7 separate regions of the Homo sapiens genome follow, and all the other regions are linked to region 4. Evidence: promoter capture Hi-C in 16 types of primary human blood cells and fetal thymus (Javierre and others, 2016). All regions are on one chromosome and are shown on one strand. Each heading gives the region's core, a stretch centred on a gene start or on the middle of the fragment in contact. The rest is flanking DNA. Distances are from core to core; before and after follow the strand shown. Region 1 overlaps CHD1L (chromodomain helicase DNA binding protein 1 like). Region 2 has its middle 20 kb from the start of PRKAB2. Region 3 overlaps FMO5 (flavin containing dimethylaniline monoxygenase 5). Region 4 holds the start of GJA8 (gap junction protein alpha 8). Region 5 has its middle 92 kb from the start of CHD1L. Region 6 overlaps FMO5 (flavin containing dimethylaniline monoxygenase 5). Region 7 has its middle 26 kb from the start of PDE4DIP.

Region 1 (2,700 bases), core at 51-2,550, 650 kb before region 4:
AATCCTCCCATGAAATGTAATTTTCCAGATATGCACATCCTGTCACATGGATCTAGTATTTATGTTTATCTACTTCTTTTCTTGGATTCAGATTTGCTCCAGGTCTTTCCTGTGTAACATATGCAGGCGACAAGGAGGAAAGAGCCTGCCTTCAGCAAGACCTGAAACAGGAGTCACGTTTTCATGTGCTACTGACTACCTATGAGGTATTCATTCGTTTCTCTATAGCGAGAACTCCTAACCTGTGACCTTAGAAGTTGTAGAGTCTGCTGAAATTATATTTAAGTTTTGTTGAGAGCACACACTTTTCTGGGCAGGGAGTCTACCTTCATCAGATTCTCAAAAGAGGGCTGTAACCAAAAGAAGTGAAGGATCATTGTGCTTCAGATTAGTTCGATCTTTTCCTTTCTTGGTGGATCAAGGGGGAAGGCTTCTCAAGGAAGTGGCACTTGAGCTGCCTCTTGGTTGATGAACAGAAGTCAGGCAGGCAGGCAGGGGAAAGGGTTTTGTGGACTGAGGAATCACGTCTGTTACTGGAGGATAGGAATGGAAGACAGCTCCGGCCTTATTTTAAATCCTTGTTTTTCAGTCTAAGACAGTGTGTGCCACTGACCTTCCACTTAATCAGGCTTTTCTCTTTGTTTTTAAGATGGCGCTACTTAGAAATTATTCTCAGAACTTTTTTTTACTTAGTGAACAAATGAGACTTAGATAAATCCTATAGTTTAAGAGAGTTCACAGAAAACTAGCTTATCAATATCAGAGTTTATCAATGCCAGCCTTTATAACGTGTCTTCCTAATTTTTCAGATTTGCTTGAAAGATGCATCATTTCTAAAATCGTGAGTAGGTTGTACTATTTAAGAACTTGGGTTGAATGTATTATGAATGTCATGTCTTTCCTTCACGTTTTAGTACTTTGCCTCTCCTGGCATGTCTGGTATGTCTTCCATGAGTTCTGTTTATGGGTAGGCGGCATGGTGGGAGTCCTGTGTTTACAGTCCTCTACTCATTAGCTGTGTGTCCTTGGGTTAGTTATTTAATCTCCATGAACTTCAGCTTCTTCATCTGTAAAATGAGGATAATTGTTTCTTACCTCAAATAGCTGTTACGAAAATTAAATGAGATTAAATATACTTTGTATGGTTAATAGATATTAGGCTCTTTACATGCAACTTGCATAGACCCCTTTCAGTACTACCATTTGGAGAGTTTGCTGTAATACAGAAGGAGAACCATTTGAGCTGTTTGCTGGACATAACCTAAAATAGCAATCAGTGCCGTGGAATTAACTTTTTAGAAAGGGAGTTTTAAGTGTACCTCTAATTAGTTAACCTCATATTGGCCCATGAAATCAGAAACTCAGCAATACCACCTAATAATGGGAATGATAGGATCATGTCAAGATAACAGTTACAATGCAGATTAAATAAGGGCTAGAGTTTAGGTAAGAAAGATATGTTGACAGGGTTTCATTCTCTATAACCTCTGTAGTTATTACATGGTTAGGTGGATATTCTGTATTTTAATATTCAAAAATCTTTGTTTTCAAAGTATTTTATCAATATTTTAAATGTTATTTCTTATCCAGGTTCCTGTGAGCTGGATTTCTATTTTCATGTTATTTTGAAATACTAGAGGCTAGGTCATAGATTTCATGACTTCTATCTAGTATTTCATTTAAGTGAGCATATTATCTTATTTTTCTTAAGATATACATTCCCTCTCTTTTTATTATTAATATTCAACTTAATATTTGTTGAAAGTCAGTCACTGGAAAGACATTGTTCTGAGAGTTATTGGCAATATCAGGAAAGTAAATCATAGAGCTTCCCTAAGAAGACAAACTCCAGTGGAGGGATGAGAAGTGTACAGATATCCATAATACATAGCAATATATGGGAAGTCTCAAAAGATAATAAAATTGGGACATAAATGTTGCTGGGTACTTTACATAAATTATCCCATTTAATTTTCATGAAAACCCCACGAGGCAGCTATTATTCATTTTACGGGTGAGGAAAATAAGAGATTTGGTAACCCATCCAAGGTTACATTGCTGATGATAAATAGCAGAGCAGACATTTAAACCCAGCATTTGGTGCTGTGGAGCCTCTTTTTAAGAGAACTTCTCAAAATAGCTAGTTGTACTGGAGTTTTACATTATTCAGCAGAAATAGAATCTTTCTATTTCAGATAATCGGTTTTCAGTGCATTTTCAGGTAGATTTAAAAACCTAAGTAACAGAGGGACATTTATAATGCTGTCCTGTAGTATGAATCCCAACAACATAGATACATTCTTTCAATATATTTGGAAGGTTATATTGCTTATTGCTGTATTGTACATTCTGAGAATAGCAGGGAAGTGTAATATCATCTCTGCCCTAAAGAGATTTATTATGGAGAGTTAAGGCTGTGCATGTTACAAATATGAAAAATTTGAAATGTTTTGGACAATAGACTTGTAAAACTCTTTGGATCAAGAGGATTAGAAGTTACCTCATCCAACTTTCCATTCAGTGCTGGATTTCCCCCATCTTTTCCTCTTCAGGGGACATCATTTAGAGTATCCTTTGATAAGTGATTTGACCCACTTCCTTTCATGAGCCAAAATCCACCACTCTGTAGCCTGTTTCACTGAACAAGCATTTTTTGGACACCTAAATGTCTAGTTCTTCACAAGGGAATAGGACCTAATC
Region 2 (2,700 bases), core at 119-2,618, 750 kb before region 4:
GCTTTTTAATGTAAGTTCTTATTTCACCTTCACTTTTTGAAACGTATTTTCACTGGGTAAATAATTCCAGGTTGTAGGGGTTTTTTTTCTTTCAGTACTTAAAAGATGTTGCTCCACTGTGTTCTAGCTTATAATTGTTTTGATGATAAATCTGCTATCACCCTTATCTTTCTTCCTTTGTACATAACTAGTTGTTTCTCCTCTGGCTGCTTTTACAATTTTTCTAACGGGTTTTGAGAGATTTTATTATGATTTGCCTTCATTTAGTTGTTTTATTTTCTTATTTCTTGTGCTTGGGGTTAATTGAGCTACTTAGATCTGTGGCTTTATAGGTTCCATCAAATTTCGGGAAATTTGGGTCACTATTTCTACTAATATTTGTCCTATTCCTCTCGTACCTCTTTTGGGTATTCCAGTTGTCTTGGTCCATTTCTGCTTCTATAACAAAATATCACAGCCTATGCAATTTTGAAATAATAGAAATTTATTTTGTGCAGTTCTGGAGGCTGGGAAGCCCTAGATCAAGGCACCGGCACTGGTGTCTAGTGAGAGTGGCTCTTCACTTTCAAGATGGTTGCTTGTTGCTGTGTTCTTACATGGTAGAAGGCAGAGGGCAAAAAAGGCCAAAACTCTGTGTGAAGCCTCTTTTATAAATGCCTTAATCCCATTCACATGGGAGGACCCCTCAAGACCTAATCTCTTCCTAAAAGGCCCCAATTAATACCACCACAATGGAGATTAAGTTTCACCATGAATTTTGGAGGGGACACACATAGTACCAATTATTATGCCACTTGAAGTTTTTCCACAATTCACTGATGTGTTGTTCATTTTTAAGCCCTTTTTCAGTTTTATTTTGTGTAGTTTCTATTCTTACGTCTTTCAAGTATAATCTTTCTTTGCAATGTCTAATCTAATGTTCAGCCTATCCAGTTTACTTTTCTTCTCATGATTTGTAGTTTTAATCTATAAAGTTCAATTTGGGTCTTTCAGACGTGATAAAACACACTTACATATTTATATATATATATAAACATGTTTGCTTTTTTCTCCAGCTTTTGAACTTATAAACTTATTATTGTTTCAACTGTCTGCTATTTCTACCCTCATGTAACAGTTCTGAGTCAATTTCAATTGATGGATTTTTTTTTTTCTCATAATGGTTTGATTTTTCTATTTTTTTGAGTGCCTCAGTTTTTTTCCGATGTCGGATATGATAAACTTTTTCTTGTTTGGTGCTGAACATTTTTGTTTTCCTATAAATATTCTTGAGCTTTGTTCTAGGATGCAGGTAAGTTACTTGGAAACAACTTGATCCTATGGCTCTTGATTTAAGATATTAGATCAGACCATAGACATGTTGTATTCATTTCCTATCACTGCTGTTGACAAATTTCAACAAACTTAGTGACTTAAAACAACACAAATTTATTGTCTTACACTTCTGTATTTCCACATCCAAATGGGTCAGTAACGCAACAACAAAAAACCAAATACCACATGTTCTCACTCATAGGTGGGAATTGAACAATGAGAACACATGGACACAGGAAGGGGAACATCACACTCTGGGGACTGTTGTGGGGTGGGGGGAGGGGGGAGGGATAGCATTAGGAGATATACCTAATGCTAAATGACGAGTTAATGGGTGCAGCACACCAACATGGCACATGTATACATATGTAACAAACCTGCACGTTGTGCACATGTACCCTAAGACTTAAAGTATGATGATAATAAAATTAAAAAAAAAAGACTACTGAACTAAAATAAAGCCATTGTGTTTCTTCCTGGAGGCTCTGAGAGAGAATCCATTTCCTTGCTCCTAAGGCTACCACATTCCTGGGTTTATAGTTCTCTTTTCTCATCTTCAAAAGCCAGCAACAGCAAGTCAAGTTCTTTTCATGTCCTATCACTCTGACTTCCCTCTTGCACTTATTAGATTGGGCCTAACTAAATAATCCAGGGTAATATTTGCATCTCAAGGTCAGCTGATTAGCAAACTTGATTCCATCTGCAATCTTAGTTTCCCTTCAGCATGTAACCTGGGCAACTAAAGGGCTCACCTCATTTGTTTCCCATATTTTAGGGATCCAGTGCTTGGTATTTAATGTCATTTGACCCCATCAAACACCCTGTGTCTGGGCAAAGGTCAGTCCTAACTCCACGTGCAGAGTAAGCAAATGGGCCCAGGGGATAAAATGGCTAGTAATCTCAGTTCACCTTGGATAGTTCCGCTTTTCCTCCTGAACTTTAGTTCATCTAGTGCTGGTTACTATCACAATGTTCAGCTCCATCTAAAAATAAAATGCCATGCCTTGGCTCAAAATCCCCTCTGAGCTCAGACTGGCTCTTCATCTGGTAGATTTCCGGACTGTCATATTCCTTTATGTCATCCCTAGGTATTCTAACTCTAGATTGATCACTCTACCAGATGACCAACAGAACACAGCTGTGCTAATTGGGAGAGACAAAGAAACACCATCTTCAGGTTGGCACAAATGTTTCCAAACATCTATAATATTCTCAGCCTATCCTCTAACCCCCAGAAATATTTTCCAAGATCCTGTTGCATCCAACACCCATTCCACTACCCAATCGCTATATCTAACTTGTAAGTGATCCACAACTATTGTAATCAATAACAGAGATTTCCCCCCCACCCCTCAAAAAAAATAAGTTAGAGTTGTAGGTTATAGT
Region 3 (2,700 bases), core at 89-2,588, 680 kb before region 4:
TATTAAATGTAATGCAGTATCCTGGATGGGATCCTGGAACAGCAAAAGGCCATTAGGAAAAACTGAGTAAATCTGAATAAAGTATGGACTTCAGTTAATAATAATGTATCAATATTGGTTCATTCATTATTTAAAAACGTATCATACTAATGTAAAATGGGGTAACTGGACATGAGGTGTACTGTAATTCTCTGTATTATCTTCCTAATAAATTTTGTAAGTCTAAAACTGTTCTAAAATTAAAAGCTTATTTAAACATGTTTGTACATAAGTGTATATATTTTTTAATTAAGGTAAATTAATGAATGGCAAGGTCATTTTGGAATTAAGATGTTTGCTGTATGGAGAGCAGGTGAGGCATGTTCCTAACTTCTGAATTTCATTTCATTTATTCATTCAAGAGATATTTAGAAAGTCCCTCTGTAATAAAATACTTTATGAGGTACTGATAAATGCAAGTCTGTATGTGTATTCCAAAAGTTCAACGTTTACAAAGAGTAGAGCCATCCTATCCACAGCAGGTCTGTTGGGATCACTGAGTGAAATGAATGACAGATCTCACCTCTTTGAGGTACTCCTATATTTCAACTCTTTTTCAAATCACTAACCACAACAAGTGTTATCCTGTGTCAACAACATCCTTCAAATCCTTCGAAACACCTGATTGGAACTTAGGTAAGGTTTACCACTGTGCCAATCCACTGCTTTCCAAAAGAGTGAGCACAGAGCAGTATTGGGTTAGTGAGTAGAAGAAAAAGAAGCTTCTGCTCCTGCATTTTACAATTTTCTACCATTGATGAATAAATCTTCTCTCTACAAACTCTATACACTGATTATATTTCCTACCTAGGCACAAGGCTCACACATTTGAGCAGGAAGTCTGTGTAAGAAAAGAGAGGCTAGGCACGGTGGCTCATGCCTGTAATCCCCACACCTTGGGAGGCCGAGGTGAGCAGATCACTTGAGGTGAGGAGTTCGAGAATAGCCTGGCCAACATGGTGAAACCCCATCTTTACTAAAAATACAAGAATTAGCAAGGCGTAGTAGTGCGTGTATAATTTCAGCTACTTGAGAGGCTAAGGCATGAGAATCACTTGAACCCAGGAGGCAGAGGTTGCAGTGAGCTGAGATCACGCCACTATACTCCAGCCTGGGTAACAGAGTGAGACTCTGCCTAAAAAGAAAAGAGAGAGAGAGCAGGGGATGGAAGTTGGGGAAATTGGAACTGATGGGATTGGAAGAAGTAATAAGGACAGAAGAAAGGAGAAAAATTTAAATGGGAGGAATGAGGACAGTTTGGGGCTTCTGTTCCTGTCAGATTTTCAAAATCCCATGGAATAGAAACTCTCTTTGAACTGTTGTCTGCACATTGGAATCATCTGGGGAGCTTTAAAAAATGGAGATAGTAGAATACATGCTTGGCTCTAGAAATATAACGGTGAACCACACAGGTGTGGTCTGTTGGAACAGAAGTCAGAGCGTTATGATGAAACACAGCTTATTTATTTTCAAGGAAGCAGTTTACAAAGTGTTAAAATTTTGCCAAGTGGATAATCAGAAGAAAAACCTCCACGTTAAGTCTTTAGCAGAGAATAAGTTTAAACCACATTGGAGATAAAAACCAGAAACTTGATAATCAGACAAGATGATGGATGCCCTCCCAACCTCCTCCCATCCTCAATTGATTTCATGCCTTTTCAGTAACTGCCAAAACTGGCTAAGATGCTTAGTAAAGACACCACATGTGTGAGTCCCATCCTAGGCCTACTGAATAATAACCAACATGTAACACTATGTTCCTGGCACTGTTGTAAGTGATTGGCATAATTATCCATTCACTTACTCCTGACAATAACTCTATAAAGTGGATACTATTATTATCCACTTCTTAAAGATGAAGAAACACAGGTACAGAGAAGCTTAATGATGTGCCCAAAGTCACACTGCTAGTAGGTGACAGAAATAAGGTTTGAGCCTAAGACTGCATTCTTAACCTCCATACCATATTGTGGCTGGATTTTAAGAGCAGAATTTTCTGCTGTTTACTAAAAACAACAGGCTTTTAGCCCATGTCCAAGACTGATGATGATACACGTATGCAGGTCAGCTAAGGGGATCCACTCCAGATCTGAATAAGGATGATTGTCACATAAAATTAGTCCCCAAAACAGAGTCAGGGTGCAAAAGGATTGTATTTCGGTTCAACTAAGAAATGCTATAAAGCCACTTTTATGTAGCTGGCCAACAATGTGTTAGTTTTTATGAAATATGAAACGTAAAACTTATCTAGGGCACCTCAATACTATTAAATGTTCAGAAAACTAGCTTAAAAGCAAACCCGTTCTCCTCTAGCCACCCAAGATGCCAATAGGAAAGAAGGCTAAGGGAAAGAAGGCGGCCCCCGCCCCTGCTATCAGTGAAGAAGCAGGAAGACAAAAAAGTTGTGAATCCTCTGTTTGAGAAAAAGCCTAAGAATTTTGGCATTGGACAGGACATACAGCCCCAAAGAGACCTCACCCTCTTTGTCAGATGGCCCCCCTATATCAGGTTGCAGCAGCAAAGAGCTATCCTTTTATAAGCTGCTGAAAGCACTTCCTGCCATTAACCAGTTCACCCAGGCTTCGCACTGCCAAACAGCTACTGACTGCTTACGCGGGCCCACAAGCACAGACCAGAGACAAAACAAGAGAAGAAGCAGAG
Region 4 (2,700 bases), core at 5-2,504:
TGTTTGTGTTTCTTTTTTATTGTTTTGATCTTTTTAGAAAGCTCTTTCCTTTTATGTTTAGTTGACACATAATAATTGTACGTATTTGTGATACACAGTGATATTTCAATACATGTATACAATGTGTAATGATCAAATCAGGATAATTAGCATATTCAGCATCTCAAACATTTATCATTTCTTTCTGTTGGGAACAATCAAAATCCTCTCCTCTAGCTTTTTGAGACTATACAATAAAATAGTTAACGGCCAGGCATGGTCGCTCATGCTTGTAATCCCAGCATTTGGGGAGGCCAAGGCGGGCAGATCGCCTGAGGTCAGGAGTCTGAGGCCAGCCTGGCCAACATGGTGAAACCCCGTCTCTACTAAAAATAGAAAAAAAAAAATTAGCTGGGCGTGGTTGTGGGTGTCTGTTATCCCAGCTACTCAGGAGGCTGAGGCAGGAGAATAACTTGAACCTGAGAGGCAGAGGTTGCAGTGAGCTAAGATCGTGACATTGCACTCCAGCCTGGGTGGCAGAGCGAGACTCTGTCTCACACACACACAAAAATATAAAAATTAAAATAATTAATTAATTAATGTTAACCATATTCACCCTACAGCACTGCAGACCACCAGAACCCATTCCCCCTATCTAGCTGTGCTTTTGTATCTATTAGCAACATGCTCCCCATCCTTCCTTCCGCCACTACACTTCCCAGCCTCTAATATCCACAATTCTGCTGAAGGCTTTGAGAGACAAGAGCAAACCACCAATAAAAAATGAAATATGGTCCTTTGGAAAGGACCAACCACTCTTGGTGTGACTCAGGGCAGAGGGATTCACACAACTGACCACTTACTGTCCCTACATCATTAAGATTCTCCCAGCTGATGATAAGGCCTTGGGAAAATGCCCCTAGGCTCATGCGCTCTGGAGAGACGCCAAAGGTTTACTGATGTACAGGCCCAGTCTGCTGCTAAAAGAAACTTTGGGAGGCACAGAAGCCCCAGCTAAGCTTTCACACATCAGCTTTCCCCATCCTCCTCCCCTCAGTGCCCAACACAGCTCTCCCATTCTCTCACTCCCATTGTTTCCCAAACATCCCTCCCTTCATAAAAGCTGTCTGGCTGGGAGCTTAAAATATTGCTGGACAGTAAAACCTACCCATCAGGGCCAATCCAGTCATATCTGCTCAGTCGTGCAGCACAGTAGGGGCGGGGTAGAGAAGTGGGAGGTGGGCTTTTAGGCAGCAAAGGAAAGAGACGAAAGTTGCCATTTTGCTGCTGAGCGCCAAGAGAGAAAGAGCACATATTTCTCCGTGGGACACTCCTTGTATTGGCAAGTTTTCCTTGGGTGATATTAGTTTGTAACCTTCCCCCCAATTGTTCTTTCTCAGCCTAATCTAAGGGCCATATATAGGCTTCTCCAAAAGGAAAAAGGTTGCCAATAAGATTCAGTCTTGGGCTGGGATGGCTAGACTTACACTCCAACTCTGAAAACCCTCTTCAAGTTGACCTAAGAACTGGCAGAGGTTTGGAAGGGAGAGGAATGCTGGAATAATCAGCAGGATGGGGAAACAGAGATGTCCAAACTCAAACTACAATTTGACTTCTTAAGCTCTTTTCATGTCTACAGGAATCCACAGGGACCTAAACCAAGTATTTGATATTTATGAAAAAGTTTTGTGCCCTTTTCACTCAAATTCTACAATAGAAATAATAGTCATAATTACTGAATGCTGTGGGGGTAGCGGAGGCTTCGTGCTCAGCATTTTCCATGTTGGAGCATTTAATGGAGCACAGGAAGGGATCTGGCTAAGGACCATAAAATTCCTCCTAGGAGCAGGTTCTGTTGTCTATCTATGAGAACTGCTGGCTAGTGGCTGTTCTAGAAACTAGAAAAGAGGCACTTTCCACCTGGTTACCAACCAGAGTGGTAAGTGGCCATTGAACGCTTTGGATAACTTATTAATGGATGTATATGTGTTATTCTGCCTCTTCAAAACCAGAGGAGGGCTATGCTGTAATGGGCTTAGATCTAGAAGACCAGGGCTCACAGCCTAGCTCTGCCCTCACTAGCTAAGCCCCCATCTTGGAGACTCATTTCACCTCCCAGCCTGTCTTTTTGTCTGGTAATGGGGATTGATAATGCCAAGTTCACTGGTTCTCAGACATCCATCTGGGGATCTGTCAGTTCTAGCTCAAGATGAAGGTTTCCACAACCTGTGACCAAAATGTGACAATGATAAAGTTAACAATGTAGTAAATGTTTCACCAAGTTAAGTGTGTTCAATTTAAAGGCTTGTCTTTTATTCTGAAGTTATGTCCTCTCCAGTTTTGTGGTGTTAAAATCCCCTTTTATGAAATGATGATGAAAATAGACTGTAGTTGTAGTTAGTAATTTAATAACTCTTTTTTTTTTTTTTTGAGACAGAGTCTCGCTGTGTTGCCCAGGCTGGAGTGCAGTGGTGTGATCTCAGCTCACTGCAGCCTCCACCTCCTGGGCTCAAGCAATTCTCCTGCCCCAGCCTCCCAAGTAGCTGGGATTACAGGTGCCCCACCACCGTGCCCAGCTAATTTTTGTATTTTTAGTAGAGATAGGGTTTCACCCTGTTGGCCAGGCTGATCTTGAACTCCTGACCTCAAGTGATCCTCCCACCTCGGCCTCCCATAGTGCTGGGATTACAGGCATGAGTCACCACGCCCAGCCAATAACTC
Region 5 (2,700 bases), core at 184-2,683, 570 kb before region 4:
TTTTAAAAAAGAACTGGTACAATGAATAGAAAACGGTTACAAACAGTAAATATTGATTCGACAATATCAATAATCACTTTAAGTGAGAATGGTCTAAATGTACCAATTAAAAGATTGTCAGAGTGGCTAAAAAACAAGATTCGACTATTGTATTTGAATACAGATGTGATTCCCAGTCTATTTTCAGGCAAGTTCTCACCACTGTTTGTTATTTGGTTTCCTGTCATTAAAAAAAGTTGACTAACTTCCCTACTAACTGGCATATTCAGACAGTAAAGAGCTTAAAGGAGAGGGGCTTTGAGCAGAATGGTGGCATCCTGATATAAGAGAGTAAGAGCAGGGAGCTAGGAGATGCATGAAACTGCAGCAAAGTAACCTCAGCCTCTGAATTCAAGTGCCCTTCAAGGAACTGAACTCATTTAACCATACTATCATATTTGGGAAGCAGGGATTATTACTTCCATTTCACATTTTGTGAAAACTGTTAAGTATCTTCTGTGTACTCCAGACAAGACATCCAGGCTCCAGGCCTCTCTTACATGGTCCAGCACTTATTTCATGGAATCCTCTCTACTTTGCCCTTCTGTATTCGCTAGTGCCCACTCCCTTGTCCTCTGCCAATTCCATCGTGGTTCTATAGGAAAATGGGATGTCTGTCATTCTCTGCAGCTGTGAACTTTGCATATTTCTTTGGCTTTAAAATATCTGGCCTGTAGTGATAAGGATTCAGCAAGCCACTGAAAAGCAATGGCACTTAAGAAAATCTCCGGCAACTCTGTCTTTTCCTCTTGCTTTCTCGGTCCTGCTCAAAGTTGTCTTGTTGGCAGGCAGCCACCTGTGAAATGTGCACATTTCAAAGCAAATGGCTCCAGGAGCTCATAATTGCTGCCAAACGTGTGTGGATTTTAATAGCCCATTTTCATTAGCCTTGTGTGAAATCACCTGTCTCTGTGTTGTTACCCAACTTAATTGTCAATTATGGTGATTAAGCTTGGCTTTCACTACCATCACTGGTAATCATTAGTATTATCTCTGAGGCTGAACGAAGGGAAAAAAATCATGCCAGAAAAAAATATCATTTTGTAGGTGAAGGTGAATATTTTGGTGTCAATGCATGAGGAGAATGGCATTTTTTTTTAATTTGGGCTGAACCAAACTTGAGTCTACCTGTTATTTCCAACCTGCCTTTTAGATGTGTTAGGACAAACGCTTCTCTTTTGTCACTTGGTTTTCTCTCACCAAAGAAGTGTTCCTGATGCCTATCCCTTTGCAATTCTCCTGAGATGAGCATAGGTAATTAAGACAGTAAGTTAGATAATTAATGCCTTTAAAATGCTTTCAGCAATGTCGGTGATTCCAAGTGTAATAGGTGGAGCCCTAGAAAAACTTGGGAGATAGCACAGAAAGTGCTGCCAATGTACAACTTGAGATTTTGATTGATGTTCTTTCTGCTTTCATCAGTCTCGTTAAATTTTAAGCACCTTACCTTGCCTTCTTGACTACAGGGTCATCTAATTTTGCATCTTGACTAATATTTTACTTTTTCGTGGAATTTGCAATGAACAATAATGAAAATCAACGACATTATCATTATCATCCTTTTCCTCCTTCTTTACAAATTTTAATTTAGTAAAATCCCAAACTCATTTCTGTTATGCTTTTATGGGATTTCAGGACATGGCAAAATAATGAAAGACATTTTTGAAAATGGTATCATTAGACATCATCTCTAGTATTTGAGTGCCATGTGTGTCCCCAAGGTTTATGACACTCTTAAGACTTGACAGTTTCCTTTATCTTTCCAAAACCCTTGGAGGAAACTAATAAGAGTTTTTTTTTAATTCTAACTTAATGGGAAGAAAGAAATTAAGTCATGCAAGCTTAAGGGATATGAAGTGTGAATCAGTGACTGTTGCCTTCTGGGGTAGAGGAGGAATGAGGCTCTATTCCAGATAGTCCTTAATGAAAACACCTAAAATCCATAACCTAGCAAAGATCCTCTGGCAAGTCTGGACTGAGGCTGGCAAGAGTTACAAATGAATTAGCTGGACAGTTTCCCTCTCTTCCCACTTTCCCATTCCCATTTAGTGTTCTTTACAGTGTTTTGTTTTTAAAGGCCTGATTATAACAAATGCTGTCTTCATCACTTGGTTTCCAAAACCCCTGTACTCAAGATTACAGAGTGTCCTCAGAAGCTTCATGGTTGCTCACCCGTGAAGAGTGGAGGACTGGAATCCAAACTCTTATGGTGCTTTTGTAATTTCTGTAAATATATATTTTTCTTGTAATTAAAAAATGTATTTTTTTAATTTCCCAAAAAGAATATAATTTATCATTTAGGAATAGAGGAGGAAGACAAATTACAGCTGAAACATTTTCTCTTTTATGAAGCTTTAACCAACTCTTCCTCTTCCAAGTCCCTAGGACAAAATAAATTGCCCTTTTTCCTGTGTTTCCCCTTTTTCCTGTGTTCTTTATTCTTGTGTGGATTTTAGAGTGACCACATTTTATTATAGTTATTTGTTGTATAATCCCACATTTTTATCCTTAAATTTTGGTCAAGAGAGGTCTTCTTTTTCAGCTGCTGTGTAATTAAGTTTAAGGGTGACGAAGGAAAGAGAAAATTCAAACAGCCAAGAACTGTGAAGGATGAGCCTTTTAAAGGAGAGCTTACTGCCTTATGGTGAACTGATTCAAATG
Region 6 (2,700 bases), core at 186-2,685, 700 kb before region 4:
AACTTTAATGCCAGCCTATGACATAATGACTTCTTGTGATCCAGAGATTTGGTGTAACTTGATATAGTTTTGAAGGAAAGAAAGTTGCTGAGTGAAAATAAAACACTTGCAAGGGCTGCAAAAGACGCAATCAAAACAGAAACTATGTTTCATTTCAGTCAAGGCAAGGAAGTAAATTCAGTGTTCTAGAAAAGAGTAGAATATTTTCTTGACAAGAGAACAATAATTCCAGAGAACAGAAGAAGAAGGAAAATGGGGCTTGGTAGGGAACAGACAAGGAAGGAGGCAGGCTTTGTTGGGCAGACATGAAAAAAATGGGAAAAACAAGCTAATCCAAAGGGTTTAAAATTGGCATAGTGAAGGGATAATTCAGGGAAGAGAAAGGCAAGAATGTGGGAGGCAGACAGATTGGCCATGGACAGAATAAAAAACCCAGAGTTCCTGTTGGAAGTCTGGTAAAGTTAGAGAATTCTGAAGATTTCTTCCTTCCAGGTGTTAGAAAAAAGCTGGAGGAATTAGCACTAGGCTTCTGCTAGCATAGGAAGCTGGGCTTTTTGTACATTTTCCCTAAGATCCCATAATCTCATAACCATAATGCAGACTCTTGCAAATACTCATTTTCTCTATTTCCTCTCAAGAATTCACTTGGTCTTGGAAAAGAGTCCCAGTTGCTTAAAGTATACTAAGATGCTGTGGCCTGTTTTAATGAACTGTTCTCCGCTTATGTAATTGACCCAATTAAAAGATCACTTTAATATGACTAGAATTAGGCCAACTTAATGGGCTATTTGCGTTTGACTACTTGTATAGTTCTCTCAGGTAGTACATAATCTGCTGGATAGGACTGGAAGTAATAGAAATTTGGGGAAATTTAGAAAGGTTGTTGAACTATCAACTGTAATACCATTGGTTCTTTTTTTCTCTGCAACTGTGAAGATTTTCACTAGTGAAAACAAAAAAGGTGTAATTCCAACAGGAACTCTGAGTAGTTTTAATTAAATGCTAGTAACAATAGCAAATTTTGTTATAACAACCATAGAATCAGTGAATTTCTTCTTTAGAAGGACCCTTAAACATCATCTTGTTTCTCTCTATCCTGAGGCTTGAATCTACTCCATACCTTCCCCCTCTCCTGCCCCGGCCCAGTGAGCATTCAGTCATTTGGCATCCTTTTCCTTTTCTGCTTAGAATTTCAGAGGCAGCTGGTTCCATCATGAAATGGCATTGGCTGATAGGAAAAAGGTTTTGGATTTTTTTCTTAATGGTAAGCTGATGTGTAACCCTCAAGATTTCACTCCTTGATTCTGGTTTGACCCTTTGAAGCTATACTGAGTAAATCTAATCCTTCTTCCATGTGCCTTCCCTTCAGATATTTGAAGGAAATTCTCATATCTCTCCTGAAGTTTATCTTCTCCAGGCTAAATCTCTCTCCGGCTTTTTCAGTTGTACTTCAGATGGCATGTTTTCAAATCCCTTAAAAAATTTTTCTCTCTCTCCTTATTAAACGCACTCCAGCTTCACTTTTAAAATGTATCATTAGGTGTGGTCTGGCCAGTTTAGAGAACAACAGTTGTAATGTTCTAGAACATTATAGTTTTTTAATGATGCTAGATTTAATTATTTCTTTGGAAGCTATATCATTCTACTGACTCATATGAAACCTATTCCCCTTTTTTTTTCATATATTCCTAGCCAAAACTGAAAGAGGGGACATAAAAGGAGAAAAGTGAGAATTTGGGGGATTGAATATCCTACAATATTGACTAGTCTGCAACCAGGTCTTAATTTTCGGCCGAAATAAAGTCATACTATTTCTATATTTTATTTTTATCTATAATGAAAGAAGATAAAACTATTTTACTTCAGAAATATATGCCAGTTGCCTAAAATCTAGATGAGTAAATTCTAATTTGGAGTACACATTGGAATTACTGGGGAATATTTTTCTCAAAGATGTTATGACTGCCCCACCCCAGACTAACTAAATAAGCATCAGCAAGGATGGTGTCAAAGCATGCATAGCTTGGAAAAATTTCCCAGGTATGATGTATGTCCATGGTTATAAATTGCTACTTTAGATTCACTCAAAAATATATTTTTCTGTACTAACTTTGTGCTAGGCACTGTTGTAATCATACATGCTATCTCTAGCTATTTAAAAACAAGTACCTAAACAGAGGTAAACATATCACCAAGTAATTAAGTAGTCTATTTGCATGGTCACTTACCTTTAAATACCTGAGTGGCCCAGCGTCCTTGGAGCTCTGAAATGGGCATAATGGCTCCTAAGGGCTGAATCAAGCCTATGATTGCAAGAGTTGGCCTTTCCAGGTTAGGAGGGAAGACCTTTTTATACAGGGATATCTTGTTTTTGACCACTTTGACGGAATCTTCCAGAAATGGAAAGTCAAAGCTATAGCCTGTGGCAAAGATAACAGCATCAATGTCATCCTCCCTGGAGCCATCCTCAAATATGGCAGCTGTCTCCGTGAATTCCTTCACATTTCCTTTCACTTTCACCAAGCCAGAAATGATACGATTTGGCAGGTCATCATTTAAGGTTGGATGCTGACTCAGAGCTCTGTGAGTCGTGACAAAGATCAAGTGGAGAAATGAGAGAAAGAGAAATCAGTACCACATAAGTAAAATTTTGCTTTGGTGGAGGTAAACAGGATGCCAATAATCTTCCCCTTGGTCTAT
Region 7 (2,700 bases), core at 178-2,677, 920 kb after region 4:
GTTACTTTCATGTTTCTCGTGCTTTGGATTTGTTACGCTTACCGGATCTGTGTGTTTACAGTTTTCATTATACTTGGACAATTTTCAGCCATTATTTTTTCAAAAATTTTTGTTGCCCTCTATAACTCCATTCCTTTAGGGACTTCAGTTACATATATATTAGGTCATTTAAATTTTTCCCATTGATCACTGATGCTCTGTTCACTTTTTGTCTTCTTTCTCTTGTTTTATTTTTGGATCATTTTCATTGCTATGTCTTTAAGTTCACTAACTTTTTCTTCTACAGTGTCTAATCTGTTGTTAATTCCATCCAGTGTATTCTTCATCTCAGATATTGTCTTTTTCATCTCTAGAAGTTTGTAACTTTCATGTATTAATTTTTTTTCTTTTTTTTTGAGATGGAGTTTCACTCTTGTCAATGTTACGGTCTCAGCTCCTTGCAACCTGCAATCTCTGCCTCCCGGGTACAAGCAATTCTCCTGTCTCAGCCTCCTGAGTAGCTGGGATTACAGGCACCCACCACCACGCCTGGCTAATTTTTGTATTTTTATTAGAGATGGGGTTTCACCATGTTGGCCAGGGTGGTCTCAAACTTCTGACCTCAGGTGATCTGCCCGCCTCCTCCCAAAGTGCTGGGATTACAGGCGTGAGGCACTGTGCCCCGCCCATGTATTAATATTTTACTTCATTTTATCAATCTTTGTTCTACTTTCTTGAACATTTAAAATACTATAATAACAATTCTAACATTTGTTCAGTTCTGAGTATGTTTCTGGTAATTGATTTTTCTCTTCATTTTAAGTACTGTTTCCTGCTTCTTTGCACACCTGGCAATACTTTGATTTGATACCACACATTAAACATTTTACATATTGGGTGTTAGATAGTTTTGCATTCCCATAAACATTATTGAGCTTTATTCTGGGTCACAGTTAGTTGGAAACAGATCCTTCTTGATCTTAAGCTTCATTATGGGGAACCCAAGCAACTTTTTAAAGATGATTAATTTTCCCCATTACTTGGGTGATACCCTTCTAAGTACTCTAGCCAATATCCTGTTAATTATGAGGCTTTTCCCACTTTAGTAGATGATGAAACAAACTACTTCCAGCCTTGTATGAGCCAAGAGGATTGTTTAATCTGATTCTCTTGTGTGGTTCTTACCCCAACCTTGGTAGTTTCCTGATATACCGATCAGTATTCAGCTGAATATTCAAGGAGACTCTCCACAGATCTCTGGAATTTTCTATTCTTTCTGGTACTCTTCCCCATGAACTCTACCTGCCTTGGCCTTCTCAAATCTCTGCATGATCTCTTCAACTCAGGCAGATCACCAGGCTCTGCCTGGATTCCCTCTCTGTGAGCTCTGGGGCAGTTAAGTAGGACAGTTGTATGGCTTACTTTGCTTGTTTCTCTCTTCTCTTGGATAACTTTCCTATGTTGTCTGACATCCAGTGTCTGAAAATAATTATTTTATATATCTTGTCCTATTTTTTAGTAATTTCTGTCAGGGGTGAAGGGGAATGAATACCAACCCTATTACCGCATGCTGTCTGGAAGTAGAAGTGTCTTTCTAGCCACGTTATAAATTAGTAGTTTTCAACCCTGACTACATATTAGAATTATTTGGGGGAGGTCTTTAAAAAGCTGATGTAAGGCTTCATTCCAGACCAATTAAATCAGACTTTTTCAGATTGAGGTCTTAGCATCAGTGTTCTTTAAATGCACTACAAGTTTTCTCATGTATACCAGGGTTAAAGAACCTCCATATTAAAGAAAAGGTTGCATTTATAAATCATTCTGAGAAACTTTTGTATTCTGTCATTTCAGCTAAGACACAGAGGCGGTTGGCTTTTATTTTTGTAGACAGTGTGGAATTATAGAAGCTTTTAAAGAAGAGTCTGGCAGACATAGATCTTTGTTTTAGAGTTGTAAGTGTGGCAATCGTGTGAGAGATGGGCTTAAGTGGATTGAGTGAAGATCACTGAGAAACTGTTGCAAGTGGTTCACGGCCAAAGGTAATAAGGGCCTGAACACAGGCATTGGTATTGGGAATGGCGAGGAAGAGATAGGTTGGAGAATTTGAGTTAGAACTGATAGGATTTTTTGATTAATTGAGTGTGGGAAATGAGGGAGATGGTGGAAACAAATGTTATTCTCCAGTTTATTACTCTAGACAAGTAAACTCTGTCTAAACAAATTCCTAGGCCAGTCAGAGAGTAAATAGTAATTTCATTAACTGAGATAGATAATATGGTATGAGAAGCAGATGTCAGGGAAAGGAGAGAATTAATTTAGTTTGGGATATCCAAAAGGATATCTCATGGAACTGTCTCCTGACCTCTAGTTTATTCTGAATCATAGGACAGAGAAGACATTTAAAAGCATATCTTTTTAGTATGCTGTGTAAGTTTGAACAGATTTATCTTTCTTCTTTTATTTAACTTAATATTGAAATCTGTTTATATCTTTTTTTTTTTTTTTTTTTTTTTTTTTTTGAGGCGGAGTCCTGCTCTGTTTCCCAGGCTGGCGTGCAGCGGCGCGATCTGGCTCACTGCAAGCTCCGCCTCCTGGGTTCACGCCACTCTCCTGCCTCAGCCTCCCGAATAGCTGAGACTACAGGCGCCCGCCACCACACCCGGCTAATTTTTTGTATTTTTTAGTAGAGATGGGGTTTCACCGTGTTAACCAGGATGGTCT

What was found. The method cuts DNA at HindIII sites, captures the fragments that hold promoters and counts their contacts. A CHiCAGO score of 5 or more calls a contact.
Region 1: a contact is called between a fragment that was not itself captured here and the fragment with the promoter of GJA8 in region 4, in 2 of 17 cell types (neutrophils and fetal thymus). The highest score is 8.8, in neutrophils.
Region 2: a contact is called between a fragment that was not itself captured here and the fragment with the promoter of GJA8 in region 4, in 1 of 17 cell types (neutrophils). The highest score is 8.0, in neutrophils.
Region 3: a fragment that was not itself captured here is called in contact with the fragment with the promoter of GJA8 in region 4 in 1 of 17 cell types (neutrophils); the score reaches 9.9 in neutrophils.
Region 5: a contact is called between a fragment that was not itself captured here and the fragment with the promoter of GJA8 in region 4, in 1 of 17 cell types (erythroblasts). The highest score is 6.0, in erythroblasts.
Region 6: a fragment that was not itself captured here is called in contact with the fragment with the promoter of GJA8 in region 4 in 1 of 17 cell types (neutrophils); the score reaches 7.0 in neutrophils.
Region 7: a fragment that was not itself captured here is called in contact with the fragment with the promoter of GJA8 in region 4 in 5 of 17 cell types (fetal thymus, non-activated CD4 T cells, total CD8 T cells and 2 more); the score reaches 9.6 in fetal thymus.

Annotation. Positions count from the first base shown.
Region 1 is chr1:147,255,722-147,258,421 of GRCh38, forward strand. It overlaps CHD1L (chromodomain helicase DNA binding protein 1 like), which reads left to right. Exons shown (of 23, transcript NM_004284.6): 4 at 92-206; 5 at 810-841. Among named protein-coding and RNA genes, the nearest start is that of CHD1L, 14 kb to the left of the region's middle. The HindIII fragment of the contact is 5,587 bases long and covers 1-2,700 here.
Region 2 is chr1:147,150,790-147,153,489 of GRCh38, forward strand. No RefSeq gene overlaps it. Among named protein-coding and RNA genes, the nearest start is that of PRKAB2, 20 kb to the right of the region's middle. The HindIII fragment of the contact is 7,200 bases long and covers 1-2,700 here.
Region 3 is chr1:147,221,191-147,223,890 of GRCh38, forward strand. All of the region lies in intron 2 of FMO5 (flavin containing dimethylaniline monoxygenase 5), which reads right to left. It also overlaps a transcript of CHD1L not described here and the pseudogene RPL7AP15. Among named protein-coding and RNA genes, the nearest start is that of FMO5, 2.8 kb to the right of the region's middle. The HindIII fragment of the contact is 1,158 bases long and covers 760-1,917 here.
Region 4 is chr1:147,901,541-147,904,240 of GRCh38, forward strand. It overlaps GJA8 (gap junction protein alpha 8), which reads left to right and starts at 1,255. Exons shown (of 2, transcript NM_005267.5): 1 at 1,255-1,321. The HindIII fragment of the contact is 6,753 bases long and covers 997-2,700 here.
Region 5 is chr1:147,333,759-147,336,458 of GRCh38, forward strand. No RefSeq gene overlaps it. Among named protein-coding and RNA genes, the nearest start is that of CHD1L, 92 kb to the left of the region's middle. RefSeq lists an enhancer at 2,445-2,700. The HindIII fragment of the contact is 890 bases long and covers 989-1,878 here.
Region 6 is chr1:147,198,924-147,201,623 of GRCh38, forward strand. FMO5 (flavin containing dimethylaniline monoxygenase 5) reads right to left here. Exons shown (of 9, transcript NM_001461.4): 7 at 2,229-2,581. It also overlaps a transcript of CHD1L not described here. Among named protein-coding and RNA genes, the nearest start is that of FMO5, 25 kb to the right of the region's middle. The HindIII fragment of the contact is 8,057 bases long and covers 1-2,700 here.
Region 7 is chr1:148,817,448-148,820,147 of GRCh38, forward strand. It overlaps a transcript of PDE4DIP not described here. Among named protein-coding and RNA genes, the nearest start is that of PDE4DIP, 26 kb to the right of the region's middle. The HindIII fragment of the contact is 922 bases long and covers 967-1,888 here.